Linked DNA regions of Homo sapiens: all the other regions are linked to region 1. The links are contacts of gene promoters, found by promoter capture Hi-C in human tissues and cell types (Jung and others, 2019). All regions are on one chromosome and are shown on one strand. The core of a region is centred on a gene start or on the middle of the fragment in contact, and the rest is flanking DNA. Distances in the headings are between cores, read along the strand shown.

Region 1 (3,537 bases), core at 716-3,215:
TTCTGAGTCTGATATGAAAATGAGGACAGCGGTCTTCACCCCTGACTGCATACTTAAGAATCACTTGAGAGCTTTAAGAAAAATACAGGTGTGGGGGCCCCATCGCAGACCAATTAAATCAGGATTTCAGGGAGTGTGGAGACTGAGCGTTTTTCAAAAGCTCCCCAGGTGACTGCAACATGTAGCCAGCATGGAGAAGCCTATTTCAGATGTAGTCTAGACCGCTGAAACTTCCCCTTGAGTACATACGTTGGAAGTCTCAGAACTGGGATGTAGTTGTTAAAATCTCTAACGCCCCAGCAGCCAAGTTGGTACACACTGTGGCAGAGAAAGCTCGAAGTTTATTTGGTAAGACCACCCACCTGCTGGGAATCTTGTGCCTCCCAGCTTATGTTATTTTGAAAGAGAATTATTGTGAAAAAGTCTAGACAGTTGTTAGTATGGGAAGCCTATCAAGAACATAAGAAAGTATTCAGAGAATACAGAATTCATGTGATGACACAGTATTATTTAAAATTCAGGAGTCCTTCACCTATTAGCTCCCAAGAATGAGTCGTACATGGGGTGAGGTGGGGAGGGCATGGATGTGAAGGCAGACTTATGAACATCAAAATTAGTGGTAGATTTATATCAGGCTTCTACAAACAGGCTACACAAACCATTTCTTGATAGCATTTCTTGGTGACTGGATGCTAATTTAAGTTCTATCGTCTCCTGTAGGTCTGCTGTTGAGCTCATGACTACGCCCGGGTTTAGGTGCTATCTAAGCTTCTTGAGGATGGCAGAGCACATGGGTGGTTTAAGTTTCAGGGTGTCTTCACCATATGCCAACTGTCTTGAGTCTTCATTCAAAAAGCAATGGTTCATAGTTTTTCTGTAATTCTCAGAGAATTCGTGAAGGCACCTGAGCTCAAACCACAAGCTTACCCTGTCTCAAAAAAGGGATGTCCACAAAAGCGTTTCAAATGGCTAAAAAGACGGGGGTTTGCCTGTTTTTCATCAGCTCACTGCTCTATCCCCTCCAACTAATGCAAGCCAGGAATGTAGGTGCGGAAGGGAAGCCAGGTCCTTCCCAGTGTGTCCTCCTGATGGAATGCCAGTCCTGAACAGTCCTCTCTACAGATGCTAACAGCCTCTTCCTCCATGTCCGGAAAGACCCCTACTGTGCTCTAGCAAATCTCCTCCACTCTCGGATAACAGTTAAATAAAAGACCCAGGCACACTGCAGTCTCCCAGCTAGAGCCAGATTTCTCTAGATCTTGCCTAGAACAGGCAAAAAGCAGTGCACTAGGAGAAAGGGAGAATATTCTCAGTGCCAACGCTCTCTTTCCCCAGAGCCACGACAAGCAAGGAGCAAAACTGAGGTGAAAACGGAGAGTTCCCCCAAATGCACAAAGTGGGTGCATTATCTGTTGGGGAAGACCCGGGATTTCCCAGAGTCTATTCAGAATGGCAAGTTCTTGCTATGTGAAATATGGGCAGGGTCAACGGTGTAGATGAATTCAGCTCTATTCTTCTTAATGCCAGTGTGCACCTGTGGACCCAGCAGAAGTCGGGGTCGCACAGGACTCTCCAAGCCCCTGGCTTCTCTCCTGCCGGGCCTGTGCGTTTCCCTCGGACCTTAAACGGTTCCCTGGGTTTGGGCAAGCTCAGGGCCCGGCCGGGTGGACTGGATGCCAGGGTGCACCACCGGAATGACAGAACCACGCAGAGCCGCGGGGCTGCGGGAGCCAGTGGGGCAGGAGTGCCCGCGGAGGGCGAGCCAAGGCGCGCAGCCCACTGGCAGGCCAGGCCGGGTCTCTCCCAGGCGCGGGAGCCGCGGGTGGGGGCTTGCCCTCCGCGCCGGTGCAAGGCTCTCACTTCCCCAGCCGCTCAGGGGCGGGCTCCGCGCGCGCAGGCCCCGGAGCCGCCATCCCATTGGCCGGGGGACACGCCCGTCCCCGAGTGAGGGCTTCGAAAGTTTCATTGAAGGTGGAGAAGCGCGCGCCGCCGGGGAGCCCCGGCTGCGCCGCGAGGGCGAGGCTGCAAGGCGGCAGGCGGTGGTCGCGCTGGGCGACGGGACGGCGCTGGTTTTTCTCTTGAGTTTTAAATTGAGGCGGTGGAGGAGGGAGTGGGAGACCCACTCACCCGATATGCGCTCTGGTCTCCATTTCTCCCCACGCTCGCGCCGTTCCTTCGAGTGAGGGAGGGACTCGCAGCGCCGCCCGCGCACCGGACCCACAAGGCGAGCCCCGTGGTGGCGGGGATGGTTCTGCGCGCCTGGCAGCTCCCACCCCGGTCTCTCCGGCCCGAAGCTGGGGGGCGCAGGGGCTGAGCTGCGCTGCCTCTCGGGGATCCGCCGCGGGCCGCCTGGGGGCTGGAGGGCGAGACCCGGAGCCCGCCGGGCAGCTCCGAGAGCCGGGGCCGAGGCCAGAGCGCGGCAGCCTGCGTGGGCAGCGGAGACGAGGCCGGGCAAAGGAGACGCGGTGGCTTCAGAGGGGCTTCCAAGTAGAAAACTCCCCGGCCGCCCCCAAACGACGCCCCGGGAGCCAGGCGGGAGCACAGCACGCCCTTCTTGCCCCCTTTGCTCGCCGCGCCGCCTCCCAGGACCCTCCCAAAGCGTCCCTCTCCAAGGCCCCGGCATCAGCTACCCCTGAAGAAGCCGCCGCCGCTGCCGGATCCAGGATTCACACTAAATGGGCCGGCCGCAGGGGGCCGGGCGCCGGGCTAGGTGGCCGCCAAGAGCCTGGTGAGGGGCTACCCAGAGCCCGGTGGGCGAGGGGCGGCCAAGAGCCCCGGGAGCGTGCCCTCGGGGCGGAGAGCGTCGCGGCCCGCGCCGAGGCGATGCTCGGGTGGCTGCGAGCTGCCGGCGGCGAGAGGCCATAGACGGGCATGGGCCTTGCGTCCCACCACCCCTAGGGACCCTCGAGCCTCGCCCCTCTGCTCCGACTCGCCGGACCGACGCGATGGCCTCAGAAGTGGTGTGCGGGCTCATCTTCAGGCTGCTGCTGCCCATCTGCCTGGCAGTAGGTGAGTCTGGTCCGCTTTCCGAGGGCACTTGAGGAGGACGAGGGGGGCGCCTGGGTGGGGGACTTCTTAACAAAGTGAAGGGCTCTGGTGCTCTGGGGTTCGATTCGGGAGGCCAGCGGCGTCAGACGCGCGCTGTCCCTGGTGCACAGCCTGGCTCTCTCACTTCCCACTCTGGGGCGCGCGATCGGGGTATCTCTTAACAGGATGCTCGGGACGGGCATGTGCTGGAAACTGTTTATGTTGAATTTAGTTACACGTGGATTTTCTTTCGTGGAGTACTGACTTGTGTACTAAGGATGGCCATTGCTGTGGCTGGAAGGCGGATGCGTCCCCATCGTAGGTACAGTCAGGCTCCTACCTGAGCCCCTCGCCCCAGTGACCCTGCAAGCACAGCATGCTGTGCCTCCAGACGGCCCAGAGGCCATCTCTCCCAGACCCCAAATCCCAGCAACCGTGAAGGAAGAAGTGAAGGACTCCGGTCATTCAAAAAAGAAAAAGAGGGACGAGGTACAGGGAGACAGTGCCTTG
Region 2 (3,537 bases), core at 667-3,166, 470 kb after region 1:
CATGAGAATCTCTCGAGCCCAGGTGGTGGAAGTTGCAGTGAGCTGAGACTGCACCACCGCACCCCAGCCTGGGCGACAGCAAGACTCCATCAAGAAAAAAAAAAAAAAAAACAGGCCGGGCGCAGTGGTTCACGCTTGTAATCCCAGCACTTTGGGAGGCCGAGGCGGGCAGATCACGAGGCCAGGAGATTGAGACCACCCTGGCTAACATGGTGAAACCCTGTCTCTACTAAAAATACAAAAAATTAGCCAGGCATGGTGGCGGGCACCTGTAGTCCCAGCTACTTGGGAGGCTGAGGCAGGAGAATGGCGTGAACCCAGGAGGTGGAGCTTGCAGTGAGCCAAGATCGCGCCACTGCACTCCAGCCTGGGCGACAGAGCAAGACTCCGTCTCAAAAAAAAAAAAAAAAAAAAAAAAAAAAGAGGAAAGACAGAGAAAGAAAGAGAGAGAGAGAAAGAAAGAAAGAAAGAGAGAGAGAAAGAAGGAAGGAAGGAAGGAAAAAGGAAGGAAGGAAGGGAGGGAGGGAGGGTAGGAGGAAGGAAGGAAGGGAGAAAATTTCGAGAGGAGGGGAAAATTGGCTGCGTAATTTGAGATGGATTAAGAGGCCTTTCCCCTGTTGTCCCCTGGAAAGGCAGTGTGAGGGCTGAGCAGAAGGAGGGAGAAGCCTCTGGGAATTTTTGAGATGAACCTCAAAGAGACTGGCCTTCAGGAGAGGAACCAATGTGGTCCCACTTCAGGTGGAACAGACTAAAACCGCCCTTGGCAGAGATACATTAATCTTCTTTAACTTGCAAAACTTTCATGATCCAGTGTGGGTGCTGTTGGAGTGACAGGAGTGGCCTATGATCTAAATTTGCCTCACTGAGAAAATAATGAAAGAGCAAATCTATACACTTGTTTGCATATCTATGTGTGGAAGCATGTATGTGTGTATATATATTTGTGAATATATATTTCAGATTTTAAAATATGGGACCCTAGTCTTCCTTTCAATATAGAAAATCGGGAAGAAAATCAAAATACACTGCTACTGCTATCCATATTTGATGCTGTTGAAAATAGTCAACAGTATCAAATGCCAGTGCAAAAATATCAAAATGCACTGCTACCATCTGAACTTCATGCAGTCTCCATAGTGCAGATCCATAGGGTGCATTGCCTTATGCACACTGAATGCAGAGTGCACTACGCACTGGCCCTGGCCCACCACCCAGTCAAGCCTCCATTCTCATATTTCCGGCACCATCTTTGGCACTTAGTGTCCAGGCTTGTAAAAGCCACTGTAGTCATGTCCTGTACTGACTCCCAGGTCTCTCTCCTGGTGTGTAATCTATGGCTAGTGCCTATGGGTAAATGTTAGATTATTTTTCCTTACTTTAATCTGCTGAAATGAATGGATCCCTCCTGAAGATAAATCACATTGCCAAGTCGGGGAGTGGGGTTGACCCCATGTTCTGCATGTAGCTTGGCCTGAGGGGTAACCCTGAAAGGATGGAGGTCATGGAGCAGCAACACTGAAGAAAGAACACACATGTAGATCAGAAGCAGGTTCAATGCCAGACAGCACAGCTCCAATTTCCACTTGTCCATAGTCTTTAAGCAGGGGGCTTAGTGGGTCCTTCATGAATCTATATTAAAGCAAACAGAAGTGCTCCCAGCCTTACTGGTGCACAGGCTCCTGTAGGAGAGTGAGCCCCTGCAACACGCACCTGCCCTCTCCCCACTCCCTACAGCCAGTGCCCAGAGGGGGCTCTTCTAATCATACAAATCTTACCTTAGGTGTCGAACAACATTGTCTTTAACAACACGTGTCATGAATTAAATTAAAAATCATGTTTTTTCACCCTCCAAGGGCAGGGAAGGGTCAACTGAAAGGCACAGATTTTAAATATTCAGGAATTGAAAGTAAAGTATCTTTCTCTCACATAATCCCTTAAAACCAGAAGGTTCATTCGGCCGGATACTTGATCCCTTGGTCCAGGAGTTCATCACCAGGAAAACCCACCCACAGTCTTGAAGGGAGAAGGCCGCTTAAGTCCTGTTGGCCCCTGTGGATCCACCAGGGGGTACTGGAGCGACCTCAGGACAGCTTCACATCACTACCTAACTTCATTTCGAGATTGGGACAAGGTTGCTATCCCCATTTCAGAGCGAACAGAGAAGATTCAGGGCCAAATCCATGTTCCCAGCACCACAGGAAGAGCACTCGCTCTCCCCCAATCCCGCTGCCTGCGGGAAAGCACCTGAGCCTGAGCCTGAGCCTTGTCTGAACTCTCTGTTGCAGAGATACCCTCAGCCACGGGGCCAGAAGAAGAAGAAAGTGGTGAAGTATGGCATGGGAGGAATGATCATCGTCCTGCTCATCTGCATTGTCTGGTTTCCTCTTCTCTTCATGTCTTTGATCAAATCTGTGGCTGGGGTCATCAACCAGCCCCTGGACGTCTCCGTCACAATTACCCTGGGAGGGTATCAGGTGATCTCTGTGCACACCCCACCTACCAGAGCCTTGCCCCACGCCACATTCCTTTATGATAGCTGTCTGTAGGGTGTTTAGTCATGGGCTGCCGACCCTGCTGTCGGCATTTGACTGCTCAGCAAATACTTGATGTATGAATAAGGTGCAGAAGACACTGAGAGACTAGTTTCCCTTTGGTCTTGAGCACGGGAATAATCACTCCAAAAAGAGATCTCGGATGCCATGTATCATGGGATAAACATAGCCTACATAAATGGGCTGATATCCTACATAAATGTTTTTCTTTTGACTCAGGATGCAGAGAAGAGCTGGGGAATATTGACAACACTGTTCTCTTTGTTTTCCAGCCTATTTTCACAATGAGTGCCCAACAAAGCCAGTTGAAAGTTATGGACCAGCAGAGCTTTAACAAATTTATACAAGCTTTTTCTAGGGACACCGTAAGTAAATCCCTATAGTAGATTTCTGTGAAGACCTCTCATCTAGGGAAGTTCACTCATTGTCATTTAATGCTTTGCCATGGCCTGAGGTGGTGGGAAGGAGGACTTTTCAGGGTTTATCAGTTACATAGAGCACATTCCTGGCCACTGGCTACTTTGATAATCTAAGAAGTTATGTCTATGTTGTTGGACATTAGTGGTAATAAACATTTAAATATTGATCCATTTTAAAAATTGTTTAACTTTTTAAATTGTGGTATATATTCATCTCTTGACTAGTAGGCCTACTCTGGGAATCTGTCCTAAGAAGTAATTCAAAATATGAGAACGCTCTATCTAGGCACTGGCTTATGAGTGCATTCTCTGCATTAGCAGAACTAGAGGCAATTTGCGGTTCAGCAAACAGGAGCTGGTTGAGGAAATTAAGGCAGATGTATTACATGAATTTGATTGGCAAGATACTCTAGAGTGGTCATAATAGGAGAAGGAGCTTCTACTTTTCATTTTATTTACGTGCCATGTTGTCCAAAGATTTTCTAAGCAACTTATTTTGTAATTAAAAAATTCATTACAGAGACTATAAATGACATGACAATTTCTCAAACTAAAACATAAATTTT
Region 3 (3,537 bases), core at 739-3,238, 410 kb after region 1:
TGCGATGATGGGACATTGCTTGTAGCATCAGAAATGTATATGTTGGGCCTCTTTTCTCTGGTAGACTTTAAATAATGATCAAACTGATAAAGATTTAATTTATTAAATTTCCTTAAATCTCTGTACGTTGTAGTTTTCTCTGCTCCCAACTCTTGACACAGGCATTATGTTCTTGCAGGGAAAGTATCAGACAAGGCAAAGACAATCCATACTGTTTGTGCTTTGTGTCTTGTGGTCAGTAGAGTGCTCCTCAAATTTCAGAAAGCTGCTGGGGAGTTCCTTGTTGACCAGAAGCCTAGCAGTTGTAAACCCTATGGACCCTGTCTGCCATTCTCAGTCTGTCTTAGGGCTACGACACGTGGAAGCAGCCAGAGCGCTGTTGTTGGTGGTGTTTTTGTTGTTACTGTCATTGTTGTTGTTGTGTTGTGTTGTTTTCAATGTTACCTGCCCATTTCATCCTCATGGCAGTGTGTGCGTGTTTTTTTGTTTTTTTTTTTTCAAATGTCTTGCCATGTATGTTTTGTCCCTTGTGTTACATGTGGAGAAGTCAGGTCTGCACAGTGTAAAGTGAAGGAGGAGATTGGTGACACTGACCTTGGTCCTGAATCGTCCTGATTGGCTTATCTGCAACGGTTTGGGCCCATTCAGACAAAGCCTAATCCTCCACCTCACTTTGGCCTTGTCTGAAGACCAAAATTGCTGAATTTTGAAATGATAGTGTTCAGTTATTTTGGTCATCTAGATAACAAAACTGGCTGCTGCAGAGTTGATCTGCTTCATCTATGTAAATTTTACAATGAAGAAGGGAGAACATACCAGATCCACCCTGTAGTGGCCAGTTCTCTTACATGGCAAAGACAAGGCCTCATACTCTGTAGACCCAATATGCCAACACCGCGTAGCATTAGCCGAAGATGAGTTCTCTTCATCTTGTGTGTTTTCCTCTCTGCCAACATCTTTCGTTGTGGTTCTCTTATGGACAATTTGTGTATCTTTAGGGGACATTTCATTAATAAGCCCCCAATTTCCTTATATGTCTTTCAAGAAATGAGTGAATATTTTGTTTTGCTTAGTGGTCAGGAGTGGAGATTATTATTTGTTTGAAACGGATAGTGAAGAGGAGGAAGAGGAAGAATTAAAGAAGGAAGATGAAGAACCTCCACGAAGGTCAGCATTCCAGGTAATTATGGGGAAAATCATTTCTTTGCTAGTTGGAAGAGCTTTTCTTATTGACGGACCTTCATTGCAGGCCTAGACACCTCCTGTAATATTCATATGTCATAGCTCCCCGAAGCTTCTGATTTACATCTGCAATTCTTTATTTCTAATTAAATTGTAATGATGCCTGCTCCCAGCAACACCGTAATTAGTATCAAGCAAGAACCATGTACAGCCCAGGTTTTCATTCACTGGCACTGAAACAGTTCCTGATACTATAAACAAAAAATAAAGCTTCGTTGGGTGAACTCAATGTTTTTCTTGCAAGCAAAGTGAAAAAGACTTCTCTGGCATTGCATTGGATTGCTTGAATGGACTTACATTCAATGTAAGGCGATAATGAAAACAAAATCCTTGCTTTGTTGTGGAGCAAATGATCATTTAAATGTTGCTTCAGAGTTTGAAAACCGTTTCATATGTATTGCTAAAGATTTGAGAATATATTGAACTAGTAATAAAAATATGTGGCACAGTTCTGGTTTTTTCAGCTTAGCTACCTTTCTGTTTTAGAACCTGCTGTCCCATTCTCAGCTATAGCTCACCAGCCTAATGTAGCATATTGAGTGAATGTGAATCAATGCTTGTTAAAGATGAGGCTTTGTCATTAGAGTCATGTATGGGATGAAAATTGGTCTGTGTTTCTTTTATCAATTAACTACACACTAGGGCTGTTATTTCCCATTTGTTTTCCTACGAGGCACATAGAGTGATGTCCATCAAGCCACATGATATGCCCGTGATAAGGCCTTCGTCAGTTTTTTGGCCAGGACTTCTCAAGTGGGTGGGGCCCATCCATGCTTGTTTCCCAGTGACATAGAAAAACTGAATTCTCCATAGAGACACCTTGGTCTGATGCTTTCTTTCTTCCCCCATTGCTTCTTGTGTCTGTTTCTTCATGACCGGGTTTTTGTGCATGTTTGCAGCTGGCTTATCAAATACTAATGACTTAACTCATTTATTTTTATTCGAAAGAGTTTTCTTCTAACCACCACTCATCGTGCAGCCAAGGAGAGAACATGAACATCTTCACTATGTTGGATGGATTACATGCAATGATTGACTATTTTCTTTATTCCTAACTTACAAGCAGAGCACATTTTATTCTAGCTTCAGTGACTGGCATCTTTTAACCTAGTTGGTGTAACTGTAGAGACAAATTCATGCTGACATCATATATTAAATTACTAGTTTTTGGTTTTTTCTACTAATTACTCTTGCTTTGTCCTTCTTTGTAGAGAGCTATTGGGAAGTTTGCATCAGCCATTTTAGCCTTGCCAAAGTCTGTCATTAAACTTCCCAAAACTATTCTTCAGTATTTAATCAGAGCTGCAAAGGTATTTGATGTTTTACTGATGTGTAGTGTGTGACTCTCTGCTCTGTAGAAATGTAGAGAAATATACCTTCATTGCCCTATCTCTGCATTTTCTCGGTTCTATAGATGGTACCATGAAGGAATTACAGGAACGTAAAATATTAGAAAAAGTTTTCCAAAACAAGTTCTTAGAAGCCGAAGTTCTTATTATTTGACTCTTGCTCTTAAGTGGACACCAGTAACTATCGAAAAATAGAAAGAGAAAATGCAGATACAGATATACTTGCTGTCCTTCTCATGGTGTTGCCTAAGTCACATCTCATTTTAAAAGGGTCACATCTGGTTGCATGAATCAGTTCTGATGAGTAAAAAGGGTGATAATTTTTCTCAGAAAGCTGGTAAAATTCTGGATAAGCTAATAAAAGATGTCTTTTACTCCGTCTCTCATTCGGGTCCCTTTCAGTCTCCGTCTTCCAGTTTCTGCACTCGGTACAGCCAGCTTCTTCCTGGGCTGATCCACCCAGTGCAGTCTGCGGGCTCCTCAATCCCACAGATCCATGCTAGGGCTTTTGAGTACACTGTCAAAAATTATTTGTTGATTAACCTAATGCACAGTTGAAGTTATTCAGCTACCTATGCTGTAGTCGCTTCGTTACGGAAAAACATTAATAATGAATTCCTATTCTTACATTTTATAGAAAGCCCTTTCTCCTGAACTCAGTCAGGGGCAGCCACTAAAATGCTTTGCTCTGTATGTCCCTCACCTGTTAAGCGAGTAGTTCGATAGTGACATAGACCAGTGCTTCTCACATTTTACCCTGGGGTCTTATTTAAATGCAGGTTCTGATTCAGCAGGTCCTATGGGACCTCACAGTGTGCATTTCCCTCAAACTCTCATGTGAAGCACAACCGTGGCTGGGCCTTGAGTAGCACCATCCACACCTCCAGGTTCCTTCTGCTTTTAAAATGCCAGGATCCTGTTTTTTAGTGTAGTATTTACCATTTCT
Region 4 (3,537 bases), core at 287-2,786, 260 kb before region 1:
GGGCCTTTAGTGAGGCTGGTGGGCGTTATCCATCAGGGCTTCCCTTGGGGAGCGGTGGTTGGCTGGCTTAAACAAAACACACATGATGGGGACCTTTCTTACCTGACTCTGGGCTTAGTCAGGTTTCATCGTGGTCAGTGGCTGTGAGAGATGCTGGGGTTGGTGAGATGAGGAACCAGCTGTCTGCATTGCATGGGAAGGGGAAGTTTTAAAGAAGCTAAAGATATAATAACTGGATATGACTGGATTTCAAACAACTTACGGCAGGCCTAGAAATGGGTGGTGAAACAACATAAAATTATAGTAATTCACTGCATGGTTAAATATTACTGAGACCTGGCATCAAACTTCTCAGATCAAGTCAGATGGCGTAGTCGAATAGTGGCGAACTAGACCCAGGAAGAGAGAGAGGTGAGCAGGAGCTGGAGGAAAGGATTGTGTTTATGTGCCAGGCTGTGCTAGGTACTTTCACACATGCAATTTTATTTAATTTTCACAGAAATTTTGCAAAGGAGGTATTTCTTCAGGCTTGCTGGAAGTCTGGATAAACTTGTTGGGGGGTCAGTCACGTAACTTGCAAATGAGAGAGCTGGCCTCAAACCCAAGCCTACGTGACACCAAAGCCCTCGATTCCAACAGGACACAGGAGGGAAGGAAGGAGGGAGGCTGAGAGGGAGGGAGGGAGAGAGAGAGAGAGAAGGAAAGCAGGAAAGGAAGGGAAGGAAGGGGAAGGGAAGGGAGGAAGGAGAAGAGAAGGGAAGGGAGGAAGGAAGGGTAACACTCATGAACAAAGGGCCACAGCATGGCAGGGTGGAAACAGGCAGGAATGCCACCAGGAGGTGCTGGGTGGCTTAGCGTCCAGCTTGGGTCTTGCAGATCCACTGCACTCACAGGGAGACAGGGGTGGGTCTCCTGGAGGGTGCTGCTTCGCTTTTCCTCAAATCACCTAAGTTGAGCCTGGCAAAAGAATATTATTTTGAATCAGTTATTTGTGGGGAAAGGGCATGGACAATTATTATGATTGTCTTGAAATAGTGAAAAGGATGCTCCAAGGAAAAAGTTTTATGTGCCTGGGGTGTTTTACTTGGCCTTGGCTTTCCATGGCAGAAATACAATCAATCAAATTCTGAAAATAATTATTAAAACAATTACTCCTTGCTTGAGAGAGGAAAACTGATTAGATCCAAAGTTGAAAAGTCTCCACAGGCAGATGGAGGAATCAGGAAGGGCTGGGCCGTCGGCAGGCCTTGCAGCAGGTGCTGGGCTGAGGCCTGGGGGATGCTCCCTCTCTCTTCCCTCTGATGCCTGTGAGAGGGCCTCGGGCTCTGGGGGGGGCCTCAGTGGTTAATGTGCAGTTTGTAAATGCACTTGCATTTATGAGCAGGACATCAGGATGCATTATTAATGCCCAACTGAGAAGAATAACAAGAGGCTTTTGTGGTTTATGCAGTAAACTGTGTTTTCACTTAAGAGTGGAACATAGTAAATACAAATTGATGATACAGGCAATAGTAATCATAAAACCACAGCACAGGCAGGCTGACAAGAGAGGTCCCGTGCCAATTTGCAGCTATTTCCATGGCACGCATTTGCCTTTAGAACGTTTCCATGCTGGGTAGTTGGGTATCAGCAAATACTCCTGTCACTTCAGGAAGCTTTGTTTACGCACAGATCTCTGAGTTACTGTGGTCTAGAAAGACCAATTATCGTTCAGATACAATTTAGCTGACAAACTTATTTAATGGTTATTATTTTCAGAACACAGCTCTTTTATTTTTAAATAATGTGATTAAGAATATGATGAATTGAAACCAATTTTTCTTTTTTTAAAATTTCTAATAATAGAAAAATACTAGTTCTCCTTGAGACTTTTTTTTTACCCTTCTTGTTCTGAGAGAACTTGGTGTTTATGAAAACTTTAGGGTTTTCAGCAGCTAAATATGCATGTCAACAAAGAGACAGCTTGGACATGCAGGTCTCTGGTACATGAATCCTTGATTTATGAGTCATTGGACAGCACAAGTGGGCTTTTCTGGCTGCTCCCACATTGCTGAAGCCACAGCTACAGGAGCCATTGCTCTTGGTCAGGACCATGTCAGCGGCAGTTTGGGTAAAATGGGTTTCTATGGGCTGGCCAGGTAGTCTAAATCACCATGTGTAGTTACCTGGGGAAAGAGACGTTAATTGCAAACAGTCAGGTTGGAAAGGGTGATGGGAAAGGGTGAGGGAGCTCTCAGGTTGAGAGCTACCCTCAATGATTCATCAAGTCAATTCTACGTAGGCTTACTTCTAAATGTGACATATCAGAATATCTCCCCAACAAAGCCCTTGAAAGAACACTTAAGGTCAAGATACAGAAAGCCTAGCAGCAGTTCTCATGGGGTTCTTCTTAAAACACCAACAACAACAACTGTTTGTTTCTGTGTATTTGAATATTTCAGATATTTGTCTAAAATTTGCAGTGTTATGGATGTCAGATTTACAAATTATTTTCTTTCCACTCATCATAATCTATGCTCTTTATAGAAAGGGAAAGCACATCCTCAAATTCCATCTTTGTCACTTTTAGCAATAAACAATCAATTTAGGAACAAAGAAAAGACCCCATGTACATAAAAGTAAAGAGGTTGGTTGATGGTGTGTTTATGTCATGCAAAATGTGGTCTATTTTAAAGAAAACAAAGAGCACTAGAGATTTTACTCTCTTGTTTATTACTTATTTTTAAATTATGCACATTGCTTTCATTTTCTTAAAAACAAAAGATGGCATAAGTGATCACAAAAGGAATTGGGCAATTTATTGGGGGGAAATTTCTCCTTTAATAGTAAAAAATAAATTTGCAAAGAGTATAAAGCTTCAGCTGCAGAGCCATCCAGCTCCAGAGATCGTCTTTCTGATTTGTTCCAAGCCTTTCCAACATATTCACCTCTCTGTCTCTGTCTTTCTCTGACACTCATGATGTTGCTCTTTAGTGATCATAGAAGCTGCCCAATATAAACATTTCCCATTTCCTTTTCATAAACCATAGAAAAGTATAAGAAGGACTGGTATTTCTGAATCTCTTTGTTCAGAAAACATGGAGCTGGATGTAGTGGTTGCATGACTGATTTCTGAGGATAAGTAGCTAAATTATTTAGAAATGAAAACTGTATGCTTTAATGTTAGATTATGGTTTTGCATTCTTTAGTTTGTCATAGAATTTATTGCTCTGAAGAATGATTACATGATGTTTTCAGATTAGGGCCAGATGTATATCCAGAATTTAAAACTGCAGAGAGAAATGTATAACATATGGTCTGGAATTCTTAGGAAAGTTATGAAACTTCTGGGTCTCAAGAATTACTATGACATGAATGTTACAAAATGAGGTCACTTTAAAGATATTTATACTTTTTAAAATTACAGTTCTGTTATTAGCTGAAAAAAAATGAGATACTGGGAGGTTTGGGGCCAAAAACTTAGTGGCACAAACTTCTTGTCTCTGTAGAGTGTGTATTATATTCTTACCCCAGTGCCTGCAAGCCTGCAGCACCATC
Region 5 (3,537 bases), core at 376-2,875, 260 kb after region 1:
CTGTTTATTTTATTATTTTTTTAATTTATAAAAATAACAAATCTTTGTTTAGGAGAATATCTCATTAACCTAGCCATAATTCAATAAATCAGTGATTTTGTAATAGGTCTTGAACTACTAAAACATAATTTCCCAGAATTTTAAGCAAAGGGATTCGCAGTAGAAACAGTTTCCTCTGAATCCAGCATTGTTAATTTTATCCTGGCCATAAATTTTCTATTAGGGAAATCCCCAGGGAGAAACCACTGAAGCAGCTCTGTTGAAATACTGCAGAAAAGGGCTCAAGGACCTTTACTGACCATATTTCTTTCTGAATGTTGAGATGTCAGAAAACAATGCCTACCATTTAGTACAATTTCTGTTATTTTCAACAGCTACATATTTACAGATGTAGCTTGTTTAAAATATTTCATTTGTATGAAGTACTTGTTAGATTTTGGTGGTGATTTCTTCATTTACATTTTTATGTTTTCTCAGATTTTGCTTTTCCTCTCTATTCCTACTCACCACACTTGCGGTCTTTATTGTTTCATGCTAAATTGCTTCTGTGCTTCCCTCACCCCCGCCCCTCTCCCCATCTTTCTCTCTCCCTCTCTCTGGTTCATTGAGGTGCAATTTACATTCCTAAAATTCTACCCATTTTAGGTGAGTAGTTCTATGAATTTGAAAATATACACAATCATTTAACCACCACCATAGTCAGGATGTGTGTTATCTTCATTATCCCCAAAAAGAGTCTCCTGCCCTCGGCAGTCAACCTCCCACCTCTTCCCCCAGCCCGTGGCAACCACTGATCTGATTTTTCTTTCTCTGGCTTTACCTTTTCTGGATTGTCATGTGAATGGAATCATGGAGTCTATGGCCTTTTGTGTCTGGCTTTTTTCACATGGAATAAACCTTTTAGATTTATCCATAGAGTCACAAGTATCCATACTTGATTCCTGTTTAATTAATTAATTTTTATTTATAAATAATACATAATAATTGTACATATTTATGGGGTACATTGTGATAATTCCCTTTTATTGCTAATGGTATTCCATTATATAGACATTATATAATCAGTTATCTGCTGATTGGTTGGTCGATAATTGGGTTGTTTTCAGTTTTGGGCAATTATGAGTAGAGCTGCTATGAATGTTTGCAGGCAGGTGGTTGTGTGGACATCATATTTTTCTTTCACTCTAGGAGTCTCTTAATTGGCTGTTCTATCTTCAGTCTGACTGCCTATCAATCCTGCATTACCCTAAATGTTTACCGGACCCATTTCTGAAAATTAAAGCACACTTGAACTGCATGAAGAAACATATTTAAAGATATTCTTGGGTGATTCTATTTGTAGTATGTCTACCACTCTATTTTATGTGCTTTACAAATTTATATTTTCATTTATTTTATTTGCTTAACAGAAGCTTTACCTTTTGACAGTTAAAAACTCAGAGCTATTTATCACTCATTTGATTACTATTTTATTTCTGAAAAATTTGGAATTTTTTATAGCTAATTACTTTTAGCTTGTTATAATAGATTTGAGTACAGCCTTTGAGATCCCTCACCTGCAGTCTCAAAATTGCAATGCTCTGAAAACATTTTAGCCTAGTTTTGTGATGGCAAAACCTGACCTGAAGTCACCTGGTAGCTGAAGGGAGACCATTCCTGTGAGTGCGAATTGTCCTCATGTGTGTGTTTGAACAGGGCCAATGCCTAGTGTCTGCATCAAGCGGTACATCATGTATGTAACATGTGTCTTTCTGCATTCTGGAAAAGGATGAATTTTGAAGTACATTTGGCTCCAAGAGATTTGGAAAGAGGATTTGTACTGTCTTCATCTGTTCCCTACACAACTGCCTTACTTGTTTGATGATGGTAGTCAAACTTTTTACTGTGACCGCAGGAAGCAATGCACTTTCTTTTATTTTTTTTTAACAGAGTCTCAGTCTGTCTCCCAGGCTGGAGTGCAGTAGCGCAATCTCGCTCACTGCAACCTCTGCCTCCCGGGTTCAAGTGATTCTCCTGCCTCAGTCTCCCAAGTAGCTGGGATTACAGGTGCGCACCACCACACCCAGCTAATTTTTGTATTTTTAATAGAGACAGGGTTTCACCATGTTGCTCTCGAACTCCTGGCCTTAAGTAATCCACCTGCCTCGGCCTCCCAAAGTATTGGGATTATAGGCGTGAGCCACCGCTTCCAGCCAGCAATGCACTTTCTGTTTTGATCTGGTACAACACGTGATTTCAAACTTTCAAAGGAAAAAAAAAGTTACTCTTACCACTTGCAAGGAGATTCGATATATTTTTTATTTCCTTTGTTCTATTATATTACAGAAAAAATAAAGTACTGGTTGATTCCCACTAAGTTTATTTTATAATATGCTAATTATTCATGACCTGCATTTGGAAAAACACCAGGCTAAACACCAGTGCTCAGCAGGAGGGATGGTAAGCTCAGAAGCGAATTAGAAGTTTATTCCTTGATATGATTTGGCTGTGTCACCACCCAGATCTCATCTTGAGCCGTAGTTCCCATAATCCCCATGTGTCATGGGAAGAACCTGGTGGGAGGTAATTGAATCATTGGGGCAGTTACCTCCATGCTGTTCTCGTGATAACGAGTGAGTTCTCATGAGATCTGATGGTTTTCTAAGGGGATTTTCCCCCACTTCACACTGCACGTCTCTTGCTGCCTCCATGTGAAGAAGGATGTGTTTGCTTCTTCTTCTGCCATGATTTTAAGTTTCCTGAGGCCTCCCCAGCCATGCTGAACTGTAAGTAAATTAAACCTCTTTCCTTTATAAACCCAGTATTGGGTATGTCTTTATTAGCAGCGTGAGAACAGACTAATACATTCTTGTTATAGCTGCTTACTCTAAGCTGTTCCCTGAAAAAAATGGCAAATGCTATATTTCATGGCACTTGCAGACTCAGCCACATTGACAAATGAGGCCTGCTCTGCCTTAGAAATGTGTACTGTGGATTACATTCATAATCCTCACACTTTAGTTCAAGCAAATGGAGACCCTGAGACTGTGTCCTCACTAAATAGGAGTAAATCACTGGCTTCCCCTGTATGGGCTGTAGTTTAAACACACAAGATTTTACTGGCTTTCCATTTTGCAGTACTTCACAAGAGCTTTGCTAGCCAATTAAAGCATCACAGTAGGAGCTGGTCAGTTGGAGTTTGATGGGGGAGCAGATTTGCTCTGTTATGGGATAAAGAATTTATCTCAGGAATTAGGCTGTGTATAATTATGGACAGTGCTGGGGGAGCCAAGGTCCAAGAGGAAAGACAGAGACATGGTGACTAACCAGTCAACCTGAGACGTCAGCAGTTAAAGTGGGACCCCGATGGGGAGCCCCTGGAAAGGTCCTTGGGAGCTCTTTCTTCTATGTGGCTAACACATCCACGGGGTGGCAGCCAAGCATCTGGCAGTGGACCTGGGGCTGCTGTGGTCCCCTGGGCAGCTCTTAGGGAGGAGAATGAGGATGAGGGACCCTACCTGACACCTCCTTGTTAGTCTGTCATCCACTGTGTAAAGA

The links. The method cuts DNA at HindIII sites, captures the fragments that hold promoters and counts their contacts. A contact is called where the count stands out against the background at its distance.
Region 2: a contact is called between a fragment that was not itself captured here and the fragment with the promoter of PIEZO2 in region 1, in 6 of the 25 tissues and cell types used here (H1 embryonic stem cells, IMR-90 fibroblasts, dorsolateral prefrontal cortex and 3 more).
Region 3: a fragment that was not itself captured here is called in contact with the fragment with the promoter of PIEZO2 in region 1 in 6 of the 25 tissues and cell types used here (H1 embryonic stem cells, lymphoblastoid cells, mesenchymal stem cells and 3 more).
Region 4: a fragment that was not itself captured here is called in contact with the fragment with the promoter of PIEZO2 in region 1 in 2 of the 25 tissues and cell types used here (aorta and thymus).
Region 5: a fragment that was not itself captured here is called in contact with the fragment with the promoter of PIEZO2 in region 1 in 5 of the 25 tissues and cell types used here (H1 embryonic stem cells, IMR-90 fibroblasts, hippocampus and 2 more).

What each region holds. Positions count from the first base shown.
Region 1 is chr18:11,147,997-11,151,533 of GRCh38, reverse strand. It overlaps PIEZO2 (piezo type mechanosensitive ion channel component 2), which reads left to right and starts at 1,965. Exons shown (of 56, transcript NM_001378183.1): 1 at 1,965-3,009. The coding sequence starts at 2,946. It overlaps LOC124904249 (a long non-coding RNA gene), which reads left to right and starts at 3,018. Exons shown (of 2, transcript XR_007066288.1): 1 at 3,018-3,537. RefSeq lists silencers at 1,613-2,062, 2,303-2,582, 2,603-2,782, 2,793-2,862 and enhancers at 2,556-3,394, 3,423-3,472. The HindIII fragment of the contact is 6,242 bases long and covers 1-3,537 here.
Region 2 is chr18:10,681,041-10,684,577 of GRCh38, reverse strand. It overlaps PIEZO2 (piezo type mechanosensitive ion channel component 2), which reads left to right. Exons shown (of 56, transcript NM_001378183.1): 50 at 2,286-2,474; 51 at 2,825-2,917. Among named protein-coding and RNA genes, the nearest start is that of LINC01887, 56 kb to the right of the region's middle. The HindIII fragment of the contact is 9,596 bases long and covers 1-3,537 here.
Region 3 is chr18:10,734,247-10,737,783 of GRCh38, reverse strand. PIEZO2 (piezo type mechanosensitive ion channel component 2) reads left to right here. Exons shown (of 56, transcript NM_001378183.1): 34 at 1,074-1,180; 35 at 2,454-2,552. Among named protein-coding and RNA genes, the nearest start is that of MIR6788, 24 kb to the left of the region's middle. The HindIII fragment of the contact is 3,671 bases long and covers 153-3,537 here.
Region 4 is chr18:11,410,953-11,414,489 of GRCh38, reverse strand. All of the region lies in intron 1 of LOC107985173 (a long non-coding RNA gene), which reads left to right. All of the region lies in intron 1 of LOC124904250 (a long non-coding RNA gene), which reads left to right. Among named protein-coding and RNA genes, the nearest start is that of LINC01928, 42 kb to the left of the region's middle. The HindIII fragment of the contact is 6,685 bases long and covers 1-3,537 here.
Region 5 is chr18:10,889,708-10,893,244 of GRCh38, reverse strand. All of the region lies in intron 4 of PIEZO2 (piezo type mechanosensitive ion channel component 2), which reads left to right. Among named protein-coding and RNA genes, the nearest start is that of MIR6788, 130 kb to the right of the region's middle. The HindIII fragment of the contact is 3,372 bases long and covers 1-3,311 here.